Linked DNA regions of Homo sapiens: region 2 is linked to region 1. Evidence: promoter capture Hi-C in 16 types of primary human blood cells and fetal thymus (Javierre and others, 2016). All regions are on one chromosome and are shown on one strand. Each heading gives the region's core, a stretch centred on a gene start or on the middle of the fragment in contact. The rest is flanking DNA. Distances are from core to core; before and after follow the strand shown.

Region 1 (2,700 bases), core at 31-2,530:
ATTTTAGGATCTCTGCCTTGTTACAGAATTTTTTTTTTTAATTACAGAATCTGTAAGAGGGGAAAAAAAAAGATGATTCTCTTCAGAGCCAAAGAGTCTCCAGGAATGCATTATTTTAAAATGCATGATGGATATGATGGACTACATAATTTCCTAGTTTGCTTCCACATCAATAAAACAATTTTCTAAAAAGACTATTGGTTTATTTTACACATACACTATCAAGCGAAATACGGTATCTTGTTCACTTGTCTGGCTCATTGCTGACTGTTTTCCTTAAAAGCTGGGAAGGCTGTGGGTCAATTCAGCTCGCCACCTGTTTCTGTACTGCCCACAAGCTGAGAATGAATTTTGTACTTTTAAATGGTTGGGGGGAGGGGAGAATATTTTCTGACACAAGATATATGACATTCACACTTGAGTGTCAAAGTTTTTAGGAACACAGCCACGCCCATTTGTTTACACTTTACTCCTTCCACTTTACAATGAAGAGGTATGAGGAGCTGCTACAGAAACCTTCTGGCTTGCAAAGTTTAAAATATTTTTTACCTGGCCCTTTACCAAAAAAAAGTTTTCCCTGCTTAAAAACACATTCTGATAGTGAAAGAGCTTTGCATTTAGAAAGCAGTCTTTCCCAGAAAAAATGGAAACTTGGTTGGCATTTGGGATTAAAGCTAGATAGGAGTATTTGAAAAGATCAGTTTAATCCCATTCCCCTTTTCTTTACTGATTTTCTAGCTAAAATCCTTAACTTTCCGTAACCAGTTCAGCATGTTGAAGATCAACTCTAATAAAGATTATAAAAATAGATAATATCTACCAGCTGCTCTCTCCTCTCTCCACCCCCAGGACTTAAACTGTGGAGCTCAGATACTTGAATTCTGGAGATTCCTAGGTTCAAATCTCAGCTCTTCCCCCTTAATAGCTTTGGAAACACTGGGTGAGTTATCCTCTCCTGTTTCATCTGTAAAATGGTGAGAGCAGCAGCCACCTCTGAGTTATGAGAAATTAAGTGGAGATACTGTATTCTGAGAACGGTGCCTAGCACACAGTGAATGCTCAATAAAGGTCAGTAAAACTAGATTATCTTCTTCAACATTCCCCATCCCAACTCACCCTATGACAGATGAGAAAAGCATGGCTCACAAAGGATATGAAACAATAACAATTAACTGGCTTCACTTCCTGCTAATTATGCTAAAGCTAAGCAACCAGGTGATAGAAATCAGAAGCTGGAGGAAAGTTAGAAACCTTCTGAAGCATGTCACAGTTCTGGGTCTTAAAATAGGTACTTGTTGTCCCTATAATTAATAATCCAGTTTGGTTTCAACCCTGGTAAGTGGAATTAGTCAAGGGAGGCACCACTTCCCAGCCCTAAAAATACCAGGGAGGGTAGGTATCTATTCGCATCTCATAGAACCTTCTGACGGAAAAACACCCAGTTCACAGATAAACTTTTCCTTAGTAAATGAAACCATCGCCTCAGGGCATTTCCATAGAATACACACTTCACCAGATCCCCAGTGTTGGACAGACCACAGTGGGTTTTCCATTGCATCAGAAGATGGGACAAAGGCAAGGTACAAAGACTGCTGCAGGGAACTGAGTATGCAGGCATCTAGCGCAGAAAGGGTTAAAGGAACCTGCCCCTTGCAGAGGTGGTTTTGTTTCGCAATGACTCTGCTAAAATGGAATCCCGTGGAAGCCAGCTTTCCTATCTCGTTTTTAATCTCTTCCCTCGCCAAAACAAAGGATAAAAACCCAAATAACTTTTAAGAGTGCTGGGTTGATTACTATAATAATCAGCACTTACTGCTATTGTAATTTCATCAACTCTTTATACTGAGTTGTGACTAAACGCTATTAAAAAATCTACATGGGAAAACAGTTTGATCCATACAATCAACTTTCCAATTTTTGTGCAAAATATATAACAAGCTAAGTTTTCAGTGACACAAGCAAGCTCTGCTTTCCTCTTGCAGTACGTGACCAGTTTACTTTGCTGTGTCAAATGATGTCCTGTTGTGGAATCAGGTCTTCATTTGCAGTACGTTTTAAGGATATATTTTTGTTCTCCCCCCTCAATAATGCCTTATTTTTTCCTGTTTTGTTAGATGACTTTCAAGTTCACTATATTTCAATAACACTTATATTTAAATATTAGAAAATAAGACTAGTCATTTCACTCAGGAAACCTTGTGTGTTAGTGCACAATCTGAGTTGGTCATCCCCCGCTAAACCCTAGCAAGACAATTTCATGGTCTCGTTTGTTGTGATGCAATACCAAAAGCCTCTAACTAGATGGATTGACGTGTAATTTACCTGTCTGGCTTCCCGACTCAAGTGTCAAGTAGCAACTTCAGGTCTAGCTAAGGTTCAGTTCCTGCATTACACTGACATTACTACACAGGATTATCTTAAAACTGACACTGATCTCTATAGTTATTCACCATTAAACCTAGAATGATATTTTAGGCACACATATACCTAGGACTACCTTCATGTCTCGTGGACTGTTTTTCAGAGGGTAGTAGCTGCTTTAATTACTTCTTTTCATAATTTTTGGCCTTATTTCCTTTCACTTTTTTCTAAACCTGTTTATTTTTCTCATTACTTAAATAGAAAACAGAAAAGGGAAATTAGTCTAGAGAAAAGTTCGCAATGATCCAACCAGGTAACATTATTTTCCAAGCTACATAT
Region 2 (2,700 bases), core at 182-2,681, 2.2 Mb before region 1:
ATCTCCGCCAAATCTAACTCAGCCAGGGCCATTCCAAAACCACTCCAGTCCGTCCACTGAGCATACACCTCACGCATCTGAAAGTCCCGTCCCTGGACCAAGGTTTACGCCACCCAGAAGTGCTCTCCTCCAATGGTGAGACTCAGACACACCTTCAAATCCTAATTTTCGGCTCGCTGTGGGAAAACAAGTAGAGACAGCCTGAAGTTACAAACCCAAAGGAATCTATTTCATACACCACAGGTCCTGACTTTCTCGTCACTGGGGCGTAGAAGTTGGAAGCCCCGAGCAAGGGGACCAGGTCTAGTCGTCTTCGGCGTCCGCAGAGTCCTACAGTCGTCGACCAAGCAGTTCAGGCAGCTGGCCCGCCTACTTCCCTCCCCACCCCCACCACGACCCACCCCACCCCCACCCCACCCCCACCCCCACGCTGGGCGCACAGCCCGCGGTCTGTCCCCCGCACTGCGGGACCTGAGAACAGCAGACTGCCGGCTCCTCTCCCACAAGGGAGGGCTTGGTTGCCGGCTCAGACGCTCCCCGCCCCTCGCCTCCGGCCACCAGCCTCTCCGCCCGGGGTCAACCCTTCCAGCCTTTCGCTCTCATCTAACCGGACGCAGGACCGACAGCCTCTCCAGGGCCTACCCGGGCCTCGCTTCCTCCGGTGCCAAGCTCCAAGGTCTCCTCACCTCTCGCGGAGGACCAAGCCAGACCGGACGCTCCAGGCCCGAAAGGCAACTCCCCTCCCACCACTCCCTGACTCGCCGGTCTTTCCTCCCAACTGCAGCCGCTGAAAAAGCCAAGTCCTAAGGTCCCCCTCCATCAGCTTCCGGGCCTCCCTTCACGGCTGGGCCCGAACCCCCAGCCCTGCCCTCTCGCCATCTCGCTTCCCCGAGTCGCGAGGCCGAGCCCCGGGGCTGGACGGCTTCTTTCCCCGGCTTCGCGCCCGCCCGGCGTGCGGAAGACTCACCACTGAGCGCGGAGGCCTGCAGTGTGGCCCCCGAGGTGCCGTCGATGACTTTGATGGTCCCGCGGCTAGTGACGGCCAGGATGGCGTTGAGCGCAGGGTGGTAGGACAGGCTGTGCAGCCCGTCGGCGTCGCAGTGCATGCAGCCGTCCCGCAGCACCAGCCACTCTGAGACCCCGGCCGCCCCCGCCCCCGCCGCCGAGGAGCAGCCGGGGCCCGAGGCCGCCGCAGCCGCAGCCGCCATCTTCCGGCCTGCGCTCAGCACAATCACACTGGGAAGCGGCTCAGTGACAGTCCCGGGAGGTGCAGCACCACCACCAGTCACCATCCGGGGCCAGGGGGCAAGCCGAGCGCGTTAGCCGGAAGTGAAGTCAGGCGCCCGCACGCACGCGGAACGTCGATCGCCCGGCCGGAGGGGCCAAACTCGGAGGGAGGCTGACGGGAGAGGGGGAGAAGCAGGGAGGGAGGCGGGGCCCGGGGCGCGGGCTGGAGGCCGGCGGGTGGAGCATGCGCGGGAGGGCTCGCGCGTGCCACGCGCCGCGGGTCTGGCCAGTTCCGCGTCCGCAGCGTCCCAGTTTCTTCCTGTGAGCCTGGGGAGTGGCGGCTGCCGAGTCCGCCCCGCTCCTCGCGGGGGCAGGGGGAGGGGTTGGCCTCCGTGCATTTCCGCTAGGTGGGGACCCCCGCCCTTGCGACCTGTCCGGTACGCCCGGAGGCCTTTTGCAGCGGTTCCAGCTGCGCCTTGACCGTTCCCGGTACGCACGGTGCAGCTGTTCGGCCGTGGCCGGAAGCGGACCTCTGGGTCTCGGTCACGGCTCTGGTGTGAGAATAAACAATCAGAAGCCTCTCGTTTGGATTGGAAGGAACCGAGCGACCTTCCCAAACCTGTACCTTTTACCACGCCTGCCCTCCCCATTCCCAAGGCTTTCTGTTGAACAGAAGTACCAGATACGAGGTGCTGGAAGCGCATAGTTAAGCTTAGTTTCTCTATCCACATTCCAAACAACCCGAGTTACCGGAATTAATAGGAGTGTGGGTCTGTGTGAGTGTGTGGTGGGGTGTGTTGGAGGTCTAGAAAGGACTAATCAATTTACTAATCATCCCCCCTTGGAGAATTTTTTTAAAACTTTTTATTTTGAAATAGATTACAGTTGAAAATATACTACAGACCTCTGTGGTCTTTCTCTCCAAAAGCCATAACCCCTATCTAACTATGAGAAAACCATTTGACAAACCCAAACTGTAGGACATTATTTTTATAAAATACCTAAACACTACTCAAAGATAGTACAGAGAGATCCAATTTACTCTTTACCCAGTTTCCCCCAATGGTTGCATATTACATAATTCTAGTACAATCTCAAAAGGAGGGATTTGATAGTTGTATGATGTGTGTATAGTTCAATGTCATTTTATCACATGTAGACCTACGCACCATAGTCAAGATGCAGAGTTGTATGTTCTATATGTTTTGTGATCATTAGGTTATTTTGGAAAGAACTAGTTTTCCTTAAAAACCTAATCAAAGATCTGTTGTGAGGATTAAGAATCATTTGTAAAATGTGTAGAAGAGCATCTGACAAGTATATACTACGTGCTCAATAAAAATTATAAAAGTTAATTGCCCTCTCACATTCATGCGAACTTCCTTCAGGAAATCTTCATGGATTACCTGAACTACATCTTAAACTATTAGCCATCAGGCTACATCTGAAACACTTAGAGATTTGACTGTATTC

What was found. Contacts are between HindIII fragments. The CHiCAGO score rates a contact against its expected background, and 5 or more counts as called.
Region 2: a contact is called between the fragment with the promoter of BIRC6 here and a fragment that was not itself captured in region 1, in 2 of 17 cell types (fetal thymus and non-activated CD4 T cells). The highest score is 6.3, in fetal thymus.

Annotation. Positions count from the first base shown.
Region 1 is chr2:30,148,658-30,151,357 of GRCh38, reverse strand. The region is part of intron 1 of YPEL5 (yippee like 5); the gene reads right to left. Among named protein-coding and RNA genes, the nearest start is that of YPEL5, 3.0 kb to the right of the region's middle. The HindIII fragment of the contact is 2,989 bases long and covers 1-2,700 here.
Region 2 is chr2:32,355,754-32,358,453 of GRCh38, reverse strand. It overlaps BIRC6 (baculoviral IAP repeat containing 6), which reads right to left and starts at 1,431. Exons shown (of 74, transcript NM_016252.4): 1 at 968-1,431. The coding sequence starts at 1,292. RefSeq lists enhancers at 221-733, 1,248-1,760 and silencers at 985-1,214, 1,375-1,744. The HindIII fragment of the contact is 6,861 bases long and covers 1-1,940 here.